Regions from separate parts of the Homo sapiens genome. Here region 2 is linked to region 1. The links are contacts of gene promoters, found by promoter capture Hi-C in blood cells and fetal thymus (Javierre and others, 2016). All regions are on one chromosome and are shown on one strand. Each heading gives the region's core, a stretch centred on a gene start or on the middle of the fragment in contact. The rest is flanking DNA. Distances are from core to core; before and after follow the strand shown. Region 1 holds the start of TIMM10 (translocase of inner mitochondrial membrane 10). Region 2 overlaps LPXN (leupaxin).

Region 1 (6,872 bases), core at 407-2,906:
ATGACTAACTAAGTAGAAACCATTTGTTGAGGACTGGCTACATGCCAGGCATCCTGCTAAGTGCTTTACCTGCATTCTGTTATGCAATGCTTACAATAACCCTAAGAGACATGTATCCCCATTTTACAGATGAGGAAATTAAGGCAAACAGAGGCTCAGTAATTTTCTAAGGATCACACAGAGCTGGGTTATGAAGCCAGGTCATCTGACCTCACAGTCTACACTTAAAAATCCTTCTAATTTATAGCCTTCAGGATAAACCAACCAATCAAGAGAGCTTAAGCCAATAAAAATAGCAGACATTTCACTAAGTGTTGGGCTTGAGGCTAAGGGCTTTCATATATTTTTAGATTTAATATTTATGATGTCCTATGAGGTAGGTATCATTATGTCTTCTTCATAATGAGGAAACCAATTGTCAAACAGTGCAAGTAACATGTCCAATTATACTGCTGGTGATTGGTGGAGCCAGGATTTGTTCCCAAATTTGCCAAATGGTTATGAGCACTAGTTGCAGAATCAGACTGAGGTGCTAGTTCTGGCATTGTTACTGACCAGCTGCCGACCCTAAGGAAGTTACTTAACCTCTAGAATCATCAATTTCCTCATTTTAAGACGGGACTAATAAAATTAACCCACTGGATTATTTTGAAGATTAACAAGTGCCTGACACAGAATAAAGGGTTTTAAAATGTTAACTACTAAATGGGCTGGCTATGTGCTATTTGTCAAGAGGCAAATACTCAGCTTTTCTTGGAACCTAACCAGAGCCTGGATTGGAGTTTCTCTTCCTGCTTGGCTCCTGCATTGCCAGTTCCATCCCCATCTAAATGCCCAACTCATTCTAGTGACCCTTTACTGCATCTACATTAGGATCAACCTTGAAGGTGGGTGTGGGGAGGGTAAGCATGGGCCTCAGGCTCCCCTACATTCAGGAAGGAATTTGTCATAAGTCATTCACCTTCGATAAGGGTGACCAAGACTTATTTTCCAAGACAGGGTAGCACATAGTTCTCTTTACCTGTTGTACATATCGGCCATCATCTCCACCTCCAGCTCCGCAGCCAGCTGTTGGGCCCTGAGAGGATCCATCTCAGCCTAGCACCGTGGAAGGGATCTCCTTCTGGCCTCCTAATCCTGGGAGCAGACATCACCATCAGCACCCACCGCCGCCGTTCACTCTCCTACCCCTGGGGCTAGAGGATACAGAGGACTCACAGGGCGCCAGACCACCACGGGCCACTAACCTCAGTGAGCTTAACCACCCCATTTCACGGATGTGGAAACTGAGGCCTAGCCCAAGGTCGCACAGGACGTCTATGGCGAGCCTGGAAATCGAGCCCCGGATCTCTGATGCCCCAGTTCCTGGAGGTCACCTCTATTCAGGAGATCGAGGACCGGAGGAGAACTCTCTAACCCACGAACCTGAACCTCCAGGGCCCTGGGAATGGGATCATACGCTGAACAGAGGCGACCGGGACCCAGCCCAAAGGCTACACCTCTGAAATGGCGACGCCATCATCAGGGCCACATTGAATTCAGAGGTCATGTGTCACTTACCACTGCCTGGGACGGATCACAATGCCCACGGAGACCCCAACTTCTGACAAATACTATAACGTTACCCGCCTCCCGAGAGGCTCCAGCGGAAGCACGTGGGTTACTTCCGGGAGGAAAGTCCCGCCTCTTCTTTGATTCAAACTCGCTTCCGGAATTAAATACCAACGAGACGGCGCCGGGAACTCGGCGATCATAGAGAGGGAGCGGCTGGCGCCGGGCGAAGAGGAAGGCGACTTGCCAGTGCTAGAGAGGACACCAAAGTACCATAGAAGCTTGGGCGGGGTGCAGAGCGTCTGCAGCCCGATCAGAATTCAAGTCCTTTGGGATGTCACCGAGCGGCTTCAGTTTATTGGTTCTGTAGGAAGAGGCGTGGCGACAGACACCTGTGAACCTCACCCCCGTTCCAGACAGCCGACTCCTGTGCGCAAATCAGGCGTGGAGAAGGAAGAACGCCCCCAAACAGCGGTTCTGTTTTTGTTTCGCGTTAAAATCACCTGGAACGTTTTTAAACATCCCAGTGCCCAGGACTCACCTCATTTCAATTAAATCAGAATCTCTGGGAGTACAGTTTAAAATTCCTCAGGCAGCAATACAATTTAAAATTCCCCAGGTGATTCGTATGTACAGCCAAATTTGAGAAGCAGTGCTCCACGGGACGTTGTGCGATTACTGCTGTGTGTAGGTCACACTAAGCCCCGTCTGGGGTTGCAAAGATAAGCGAGATAGGCTTCCTGTTCGCAGAAAGACAAGACGTGTAAAATATGTTTTCTTCAACAGTTAGAGGTCCTCAGCCACAAAGAGATAATAAAAGCAATTTCGGCTGCCACCAGGGCTAATCTTGGGTGAGGGAAAGAAGGGTACTGGTGAACTTTCCAACTTTCAAGACTTAATGTGTTCTTCAAACTGCACCATTCACTCATTCCCCACTAAAAAGAAGGAAACAAGGAAACAATACTCAGTCCCTTGATTTGTCACACAATTTCCTGGTAAAATAAATTTACAAGATGTAAATTAATGACGCAAGGGCACATTGCCCATTGGAAAAGGTGGGCTAGACATTTTCTGTGTGGTCATCATAAGCTTCCCTAATTGTCCAAGACCATCCTAATTTTAAACAATTGACCTTTCTACTGCTTTGAAGACTCATCTTTGCCAAACTTGTGCCCTGATTTTTAAAGATTGGGGTATAACATTCATAAAGTGCATAAAATACACGAATGTTAAGCTTAATTAAATATATATGTATCTATATATGTACATTTGTATAACCGCCATCCAGATCAAGATATAAAATACTTCCTGCACCCCAAAAAGTTATCTTGTGTTCCTTCCCCATCAATACCCCCTCTCGAAGTTAACCACTATTCTGACCTCTATCACCATCAATTAGTTTTCCTTGTTCTTGAACTTCGTGTAAATGGAATTATACATTATTTTCTATTTTGTGCCTGACTTCTTTAGCTCAATGTACCTGTAAGATTTCCTCCATATTGTTGTGTGCATCTGTTATTCCTTCTGTTTTATTGCTGTCTAGTGTTTGATTGTATGAGTATGCCACAATTCATCTATCCATTCTCCCGTTGGTGGATGTTTGGATTGTTTCCAGTTTTTGCCTATTATGCAATAATGCTGCTATGATACTCTTGTACAGATGGACATATCTTGCCTTGGTTTTTGCCTTTGAAAATATAGTCAACATTGGCCGGGTGCAGTGGCTCACGCCTGTAATCCCAGCACTTTGGGAGGCTGAGGTGGGTGGATCACCTGAGGTCAGGAGTTCGAGACCAGCCTGGCCAACTTGGTGAAACCCCATCTCTACTAAAAATACAAAAAAGTAGCCCGGTGTGGTGACGGGTGCTTGTAATCCCAGCTACTCAAGAGGCTAAGCAGGAGGCTAAGGCAGGAGAAACACTTGAACCCGGGAGGCAGAGGTTGCAGTGAGCCAAGATCGCACCATTGCACTCCAGCCTGGGCAACAAGAGTGAAACTCCGACCCCCCACTCCCCGCAAAAAAGAAACATTATGGAAAGTTAAGAAACTGCGTGGGAAAAGGAGATGGTTTCTTACAAGAGGAATCTTGCAATATCTACTGGGCCTTATGAAAGGTTGCATACTGTATGATTTCATTTAAGTAACATTCTCAAAATCACAAAATTATAGAGATGGAGAAGAGATTTCTGATTGTCTAGTGTTAGGGTTGATGGGGAGATAGAAGTGTACCTGTAAAGGGTAGCACAAGAGAGATCTTTGTGTTGATGGATAATTCTGTATCCTGATTGTGGTGGTGGTTACAAGAATCTACACAGGTGATAAGATGTCATAGAACTGGCAGGGTGCGGTGGCTCACGCCTGTAATCCCAGCACTGTGGGAGGCCCAGGCGAGCGAATCACAAGGTAGGAGTTCGAGACCAGCCTTGTTGGTGAAACTCCGTCTCTACTAAAAATACAAAAAATTAGCTGGGGGTAGTGGCGGGCACCTGTAACCCCAGCTACTCAGGAGCCTGAGGCAGGAGAATCGTTTGAACCCGGGAGGTGGAGGTTGCAGTGAGCCGAGATCGTGCCACTGCACTCCAGCCCAGGCGACAGAGTGAGACTCCGTCTCAAAAAAAAAAAAAAAGCCAGGCGCGGTGGCTCACACCTGTAATCCCAACACTTTGGGAGGCCGAGGCGGGTGGATCACGAGGTCAGGAGATCGAGACCATCCTGGTTAACATGGTGAAACCCCGTCTCTACTAAAATAAAAAAAATCAGCCGGGTGTGGTGGCATGCGCCTATAGTCCCAGCTACTCAGGAGGGCGAGACAGGAGAATCGCTTGAACCCGGGAGGCGGGAGGCAGAAGTTGCAGTGAGCCGAGATTGTGCCACTGCACTCCAGCTTGGGCGACAGAGCAAGACTCGGTCTAAAAAAAAAAAAGAAAGAAAAAAAAAGTCATAGAACTACTACACACACACATTGTACCAATATAAATTATCTGGCTTTGATATTGAATATAGTTATGTTAGATTTAACCTTTAGTGGAAGTTGGTAAAGGGCGTACAGGACCTCTCTGTACTATTAATGCAACTTCCTGTGAAACTATAATTATTTCTAAATAAAAAGTTTTAAAAATCTCTACAAAAAAGAAAACAAATAAGATTATACAAGTATGAGTAAGAGCTGGCCATAAAGAAAGAAAGAAAAATATTTATATAAAAGATTGTGTAAGTAAAGTACCTAGTCCATGGTAGATGCTCAATAAAAATAAATCATTGTTTTCATTCTTTTTCATTTTTAAACTTTCACTGGGGCAAATTTATTTTTATTTTTACTTAGGATTTTTGAGGCAGGATCTTGCCTTGTCACCCAGGCTTGAGTGCAATGGTATGATCAGTGCTCACTGCAATCGTGAACTCCTTGGCTTAAGCAATCCTCTTACCTCAGCCTCCTAAGTAGCTGGAACTAGAGGCATGAGCCACCATGCCTGGCTAATTTTTTTTTTTAAGAGATAGGGTCTCATCATGTTTCCCAGGCTGGTTTCAAACTCCTGGGCTCAAACAATCCTCCTGTCTTGGCCTCTCAAAGTGCTGGGATTACAGGCATGAGCCACCCCATGCCCAGATGGAATATTTAAAACATACAGAAAAGCAGAGAGAACAGGACATTGAGCTTCCATATATTCATCACCAGGACTTAGGAATTGTTAACATTTGTCCATATTTTCTTCATCTATTTTTATCTCTAACAGATAAAGCCCTTTTATTTATTTATTTTTTCCTTGAGACAGGGTCTCTGTCGCTCAGCCTGGAGTGCAGAGACCCAATCATAGCTCACTGTTAGCTTAAACTCCTGGGCTCAAGCAATCCTCCCATCTCAGCCTCCTGAATAGCTAGGACTACAGGCGCAAGCCACCATGCCTGAGTGGTTTTTAAAATTTTTTGTAGAGATAGGGTCTTGCTATGTTGTCCAGGCTGGTTTCAAACTCCTGGCCTCAAGCGATCCTCCTGCCTCAGCCTCCCAAAGCACTGGCATTACAGGCATGAGTCACTGCACTGGGCCCTGCTTAACAAAAAAAATTTTTTTAAACGGAGTCTCGCTCTGTCACCAGACTGGAGGATAGTGGCACGATCTCCGCTCACTACAGCCTCTGCCTCCCAGGTTCAAGGGATTCTCCTGACTCAGCCTCCCAAGTAGCTGGGACTACAGGCGCATGCCACCACACCCAGCTAATTTTTGTGTTTTTAGTAGAGATGGGGTTTCACCATGTTGGCCAGGATGGTCTCAGTCTCCTGACCTCATGATCCACCTGCCTTGGCCTCCCAAAGTGCTTTATACACCGCGCCCGGCCAACAAATTTTTAAGTGCACAAAATAGTATTGTTAACTATATGTACCATATTGTACACAGATTTCTAGAACTTATTCATCTTGCATAACTGAAATTGTATACCCATTGAACAGCAACTCTCCATCTCCCCAGCTGCTCAGCCTCTGGAAAACCATTGCTCTTATTGATGATGATGCTATTGTTATTATGATTATTTACTATGAGACTGTGTCTTTCCTCTATGTGGAGACCTACAGGTAGGAATCTCCAATGGTCCCAGTTGAATTGCTTCTTGTAGAAGACAGTTTAGATAGCCTCAGACTTTGAAGATATCCTTAGACTCCAGATATGTCATCCAAAGCTACTGATCTCTGTCAACACCATGCTGAAACTCTGGCTCCTCATTCTACCCTGCATTCTACCCCTTCCCAACCTTGCAAAGGTGAGTTGTATATTTGTCATTCATCGTGGGTCAGTATTGTCCTCTTGGGTGGGACCCCAGCCCCAGAAGAAGAGATGCAGAGTTTTCATCTAGAATCACTTCAAGTGGGCCCTGACCACTCATGAGAGGTGCAGAGAATACAAAAACAGAGGTTTCCTGTAACCTCCCTTGTGATGAAATGGCTTACGTCATTCTATTCACTTGAAGAAAAAGCTGGCCCTGGCTTAATCACTGTCTGCACTATTACTGTTTCCCATCACTTCTTCTTACCTCCATGGCTGATACTGTGGTCCAAGCCACCACCATCCTGCACCAGGGTCACTGAGTTTGTCTCCTGACTGCTCTCCCCACTTCTATCCATGCTTCTTCACTTTATTCTCAAAACAGCATCCATCCAGAGTATATCTGCCCAAGATTGGCGAGTTTTTCCACATCTCTCTCTGGCTTGCTGGTTTTTTGTTTAAATTCATTTCTCTTATCCTACTGTCATTAGATATTGAAAAGAGCAAAATACTCTGGGCATGGTGGCTCATGCCTATAATCCCAGCCGGGTTTCAAGTATTACTA
Region 2 (6,872 bases), core at 1,905-4,404, 1.0 Mb after region 1:
GATAATAATATTAACACTACTATACCTCCATGTGCTTGGCACTATTCTAAATACCACGCTTGTATTGTCTCTAAATCCTCATAACAACCCTATAAGGTAGGCAATTTCATTAGGACTATTTTACTGATGAGGAAAGTAAGGTACAGAGATGTTAAATGACTTGAACAAATACCACAACCCAGATTTGAACCTGGAAGTCTGACTCTAAAATCCAGACTCTAGTGTAGTCAGTTTGCTACATGGCTTACTTGTGAGCAGTATTCTATGATTGTCAACATATGCACACTTAATACTGATCTAACCTGTAATTATGACATAATTATATATTGAAAAAACAGGGGAGGGGAAATATGTTAGGAGTGAGTGGGGTAATAATAACATTTCTAAACCTCATCTTCCCTCTTAGACAGTCAATACATAATGGTTAAAACTGGAAAAATAAAACAATCTATAACAATATAAAGTTATTATTTAAAACACATAAGCAGGCCAGGCGCAGTAGTTCATGCCTGTAATGCCAGCACTTTGGGAGGCCAAGGCGGGCGGATCACGAGGTCAGGAGTTCAAGACCAGCCTGGCCAATATGGTGAAACATTGTCCCTACTAAAAATACAAAAATTAACCGGGTGTGGTGGCAAGTGCCTGTAGTCCCAGCTACTTGGGAGGCTGAGGCAGGAGAATCGCTTGAACCCAGGAGGTGGAGGTTGCAGTGGGCGGAGATCGCACCAGAGATCGCACCACTGCACTCCAGCCTGGGCAACACAGTGAGACTCCGTCTCAAAAAAACAAACAACAACAACAACAAAAAATAAGTAAATATCAGAAGAAACAGCTAAAATAATTTGGAGAGGAGAACTGGATTTGGAGATGAGAAAGGGACTTTTTCAATATTCAACAAGAAAAGGCTTTTTCAATATTACCCTTGAAGTAATATTTGAGTTTTTAAACTATGCATTTGTATTTCTGTGATTTAAAAAATCAATTTAAAGGGAAATTATAAATGTTGGAGAAAGGTAGGGAGGGATGGTATCTAGTACTGAAATGGGCACTTTGATAGTACTGATAGGAACCAGGACTCCCGTGACTACCAGGAAAGGTGTTGCTGGTCTTATAACTACCCACTGGGGTGTGGGATACAGCCTCTCAAGTCGGGTCATACCTTCTGCACCAAACACCTCTCCGCAGTGAGAGCAGAAGAAGTGCTCTGGGTGCCAGGTCTGGTTCATTGCTGTCAGCACTTTCTGGAAAGGGAACACACAGATATTATAATGATGCAGAAGTTGTAAAGCATGACTCTGGTTCTAAGTGAGTGACTGAAAGCTGGAGAGGAGCGGGGATTTACTTACATCCAGGATGGGAGCAGCGCAGTAAGCACAGCGTGGAGAAAAAAGTTGGTGGTAGTCGTTGGGGCAGTAGGCCAAGCCACTCCGCTCAAAGAAGGGACTGGAGCCAATCTCTTCTTTGCAATGAGTACAGACAAAATGCTCAGGATGCCATGATTGCCCTAGAGCATGGATCACCTGTGGAGTGAAATAAAGCCTGACACAGGAGGCCAGTTGAGTGCTCTACAGCCTACAGGTTGCACAACTCTAGGGAGCACTCTTCACATTGTACCCCTTGTAGACAACACGCCCTGGAATTATACAACACTGAGGCCTAGACCTAGGTTCCACCTAAGGCCATCTGTGGTCTGTGCTTTATGGATTGATAATAAAAGGATGCCCACTTCCGGGACTGATCACTGTGATGAAAGCCTGTAAATGTTCACAACCACTGCACTGCCACAGGGGGTGGCAGAAACAACATATAGCACATTGATGACAGAGAAGTTGTAACTGTAGCCTTAGTGTGGAAGGGACCCCTGGAAGAGGAAAAGGCCAAATGACAGTTTTTATTCCTCTAGTTTGAACACTTTATTCCACGCCCCATGCAGTCAGGTCTCAAAGCTTTTTATCATAGCTTCGGTGAAGGACGATGCAGAACAGGAGTTTGCAGCTGTGACTTGGAGCTGAGTTCAGCTGAAAATTGTAATCAATCAATTTAGACTGGGAATGTGTGAACAAAGGGAGCAGTGAGAAAGGTCATCTCAGTAAAGGCAGTACAGAAAAATGGTCAAGAACTCAAACTCAGGAGACAGTCTCCTGGTTTCAGATCTTACCTCTACCTCTTATTATGCCTTGGATATGTCCATTAATGTCTCTGAGTCCTCAGTTTCCTCATCTTTACAAAGGGAGCAATCATTCTTCTTGAAGGGCTGATGTGACCATTAAATGAGGAAATACTTGTAAAGCACTTAGCTCAGTGGCCAGAGCACTGTAAGTGATTAGTAATTATTAATGCTAACTAAAATATCTTAAAATATAAGGGGAAAGAGCAAACCTTGATGAGACAGAGAGAGACAAAGAAGGCTGTAGGACCAAAATTTCAGCCCATCTCACCTTCCCAGCAATCGGTTTCTGGCAGGATGCACAATGGCCCTTGGGCACTGTGGCAATGCCAAGGTCCTGCAATTCCTGCTCCAGACCCCCAAGCATTGAGTCCAGGGAGGCCTTGTGATCCTGCTTGTCTGGTAAGTGCTTCTTGCCAGCATCTGCTCTCACTGCAACCTGGCCCAAGGGAAGAACCAAGAACAGAATCAGCCTCATTTTTATTCTCATTGGCATCTTCTAATGACTCTATAAATTCACCTCTACTGACTGATCTCTTGGCCTTTCCCCAACCTTCCTGCAAGACATTGGAAAAATCTAAAATTTCAACACCAATAAAAATCTTTTCATCTCCCTTTCATCCTAAACTCCTCAGGCCAAATGAAATCTGACTAATTTTATATTTGTAAATCTTTTCTTAATGTAGGAAATTTAGTACATGAAGATGATACCCTTTGAAGATCTTAGGATGACCCCAGTTCAAAAATTAGTCACATCTCCCTTTTACTCATTTATTTGGCAATAATTGTTGAATACCTGGTTTGTGCCAATCACTGCTCTAAGCACTTGGATTAAAGCAAAGATAAGACAGACCAAGTGTCTGGCCTCATGGAATTGCATTCTGTGGGCGATAGACAATAAATAATTAAATAAATAAATATATGTTGTAATGTCAGACAGAGATAAGTTATAGAAAGAGATAGAAGGGACACAGCAAGATGGTAAGAAGAATTGATTTAGATGGAGGTAATAATCAAAGAAGGCCCCTCTAAGGAAGTAATATTTGAGTAGATACTTGGGACTTAGAAATATTGACATTTATGGGAAAAGCATTCTAGGGGAAGGGAAGGCCCCGAGGAATAAAACAACTTGGCACATTAGAAGAAAAGTCAAAGAGGTCAGTGGGGCTAGAGCAGAGGGAGTGAGATTGAACACGGCAGGAGAAGGTGATGGAGAGAGAGGCAAAGATCACATAGGAACCTCATGGTAAACGCTTGGGTTTTATTCCAAGGTGATGGAAGCCATTGCAGGATTTCAAGCACAGGAGTGAAGGAATCTGGAGGATCCCTGTGGTAGCTGAGTGGAGAACTAAGTGTTGACAAGCAAGAGTGAATACAGGGAGATTTTCAGATAATGACTTAGATCAGTATTACAGGAGAAGGTGGTGAGAAGTGGTCAGATAAGACTTGTTGATGGATTGGAATTATTTAAGCAAAAGCCCAAAATTATTATAAACCATTCAAAGAAGGATCCTCAAATTAAAAGAAAAAAAAAAAAGGCTAACTGACCCTTCATAACCTCATAACCTGATTCTGGCTCTCTCTACTCCTTTCCAGCTGGGCGACTGCTACCATCTATCTACTGAATACTTCACTCATCAGAAAACTACAATGGCTCTCCATTGCCACCACATCAAGTCTTCACTCATCAGACAGACATTCAAAGCCTCCCATCCACTGTCCTCCCTTTTTATCTTTCCCAATTTCATCTTTTATTAATACTATGTTGTAAAAGGACAGCTGGGCTCTTCATCTCCTGAATGTGATCTGTTACTGTCTGCCTTAAGACCTCTACTTATCCTACTTTTACTGCCTGTTATAACATCACACTGTCACCAATCAAAATGCTCATTTTGCTTCGAGACATTTTGATCATCTGACAGACATCCTTCCTTCTCTAATATATGTTAGTTAATATTCAAGAGGTTAGTGTTCAGAAGGTTAGTGTCTGAAAGGTCTGAAAGGGTGACTGACATTAATTATGAAAAATAAGTAAAAATACAATATAACTACATCTACACCTACATCTCTATCTCTTCACTGTTATCTTCCAGAATACTTCTGAACAGATATAGAAGAGACAGGAAATTCTGCCTATCTCCGGTGGGGCAGAACTGGATGGCTAGGGTGCAGAGCTGAGAAGGAAACAGTTCAGTGCAAGCTTTTTGCACTTTTGATTTGTGTACAATGTGAAAGTGCAGCTTATTCAAAAGATAAATGGGGCCGGGCACAGTGGTTCATGCCTGTAATCCTAGTACTTTGAGAGGCCGAGGCAGACAGGTGGCCTGAGCTTAGAAGTTTGAGACCAGTCTGGGCAACATAGCAAAACCTCGTCTCTACTAAAAATACAAAAATTAGCTGGGCATGGTGGCACACGCCTGTAATCACAGCTACTCAGGAGGCTGAGGCACTAGAATCGCTTGAACCCAGGAGGTGGAGGTTGCAGTGAGCCGAGATCATGCCACTGCACTCCAGGCTGGGTAACCGAGTAAGAATCTGTCTCAAAAAAAAAAAAAAAAAAAAAGATGGTGTTGTAAATTAAAAATTTAAATCAACCAATACACAAGCTAAATCAACTAGAAACGCAACACAATTAAATCTAATGTACATTTTTTCTAGTATTTTCAGATATACAGCATAATGAGCCAATCTACCCAGCTTTATTGTAGACACTGGCCCATCAAAGGATGTCAGTCATTAAGGAAAACTTGTTTGTGATGTTTATTTACTCATCTCTCTAATAAATATGTGTTGCTCACGATGTATCAGGCCCTGTGCTGAGCATTGGGAGTCCCAAGGTGAGCTCTAAAGATAAGGTCCCTGCCCTCTCCAATCATATACATTTTTATATACTGCTTTGAAATTATTTCATAGTCATCTCATGAGTATATATCAAATCCTCCAACCAGATTTAAAATGGTTGGATTCTCCACCTTAAGGATTCTGGATTATATTTCCTTTAATAAATCTTTAAGCCCATTTATCTGAGATTTCCATTCCATGCCCGACTATGTGAGCTCACCACTTTAGAGGTGTTCTAGAGGCTAGAACAAAGAGGCAGATTTTATCTCAATATGGGCTTGGGACTTCTCATCCTTCCTACTGTCAGAGCCATACTTTGATCTCCCTTGCTGTGTCTCAGCTTGCTCACTGGTCTCCTCTGTCCTGCTTAGTCAGGTCTCTTTAACAGTCCTTTTGGCCGGGCGCAGTGGCTCACGCCTGTAATCCCAGCACTTTGGGAGGCCGAGGCAGGTGGATCACGAAGTCAGGAGTTCGAGACCAGCCTGGCCAAGATGGTGAAACTCCGTCTCTACTAAAAATACAACAAAAATGAGCCGTGCACAGTGGTGGGCACCTGTAATCCCAGCTACTCGGAAGGCTGAGGCAGGAGGATCGCTTGAACCTGGGAGGCGGAGGTTGCAGTAAGCCAAGATAGCGCTACTACACTCTAGCCTGGGCAACAGAGCAAGACTCCATCTCAAAAACAAACAAACAAACAAACAAACAAATGAAAAATCCTTCCACATCATCAAGCCTTAGATACCTCTGCCCTCAGGACTCATTGCAACTAAAACCACCTTTCTTCCCATCTCTTTATGTCCAAACTCTGCCAGTTCTTCAGAGTCCATCCCAAGTTTCAACTCTGATTAAATCTCCAAAATCTCTCTATATCCGTAATGTTTGCTCCACATATGTTTGCAAAACACCTGGCTTTTATTCTATAAATGTTAAGAAACTTATGCCTCATTTTGCCAAGCACACTCCAGCTCCTTGAGATCAAAGTCTGTATTATATATTAATTTTTGTGTCCAAATAACACATAGTACAAAGATGGGTTAATTCATGGAATTAAATTTAGTCTGAAAAAAGCAATGACAACTTAGGAAAATTCCTAAGTGGGAGAATGGAGAGCTGAGTTCCACAAAGATAAACTGGTGACCCCATGGGCCCTGTTTATCATCTGGACTGCACTCACCTTGGCCTGCACTCACCTTGGCCTGCACTCACCTTGGCCTGCATCTCAGTCAGGTGAGCCATGAGCTCATCCAACTGAGCAGCTGCTGACGTTTTAGAAGGTGGTGGTGATTCCTTTGGCTCTTGGGCTTCACTATAGAGGGAAAACAAAAAAGTCATATGAACAAATCAAAACTCAAATAATGTTAAACCACACATAAAGTACTGGAAATGCAACTGTAATAATGAATCCCCTGGATATGAAGCTAAAATCAGAGATGGGGGTATTTTAAAAATATATTAATATGTACTAGACCAAAAATCTAAACAAGTTCTCTCTGCCTTTTTTCTCTATTTCTCCCTGGTCATCTAATTATAAAAAGTATTATATCTCCTGTCAGTTTTTGTCAAAAAATAAAAATAAACTAGAATATAGAGCAGGCATCAACAAACTAAGGTCCTTGGATCAAATCTGGCCATGTCCATTCATTTATCTACTGTCCATAGCTGCTTTTCTGAACAGTTGGGTAGTTGCTACAAAGACTTTATAGTCCACAAAAGCCTAACAAACTTACTATCTGCCTCTTTACAGAACAAGTTTGCAAATCTCTGGTGCAGAAAGTTTAGATAATATATATGATGATGATTTCATATTCATATAATTGTAAGTAAATTATAAATAAATAAAACTTTGGACCCAATAAACAGAATA

Evidence for each region. Contacts are between HindIII fragments. The CHiCAGO score rates a contact against its expected background, and 5 or more counts as called.
Region 2: a contact is called between a fragment that was not itself captured here and the fragment with the promoter of TIMM10 in region 1, in 4 of 17 cell types (total CD4 T cells, non-activated CD4 T cells, total CD8 T cells and 1 more). The highest score is 10.2, in total CD4 T cells.

What each region holds. Positions count from the first base shown.
Region 1 is chr11:57,529,098-57,535,969 of GRCh38, forward strand. TIMM10 (translocase of inner mitochondrial membrane 10) reads right to left here and starts at 1,657. Exons shown (of 3, transcript NM_012456.3): 1 at 1,561-1,657; 2 at 1,022-1,137. The coding sequence starts at 1,092. RefSeq lists an enhancer at 1,657-1,836. The HindIII fragment of the contact is 3,024 bases long and covers 1-1,830 here.
Region 2 is chr11:58,548,627-58,555,498 of GRCh38, forward strand. LPXN (leupaxin) reads right to left here. Exons shown (of 9, transcript NM_004811.3): 4 at 6,215-6,314; 5 at 2,439-2,606; 6 at 1,347-1,520; 7 at 1,160-1,241. Among named protein-coding and RNA genes, the nearest start is that of LPXN, 24 kb to the right of the region's middle. The HindIII fragment of the contact is 2,421 bases long and covers 1,945-4,365 here.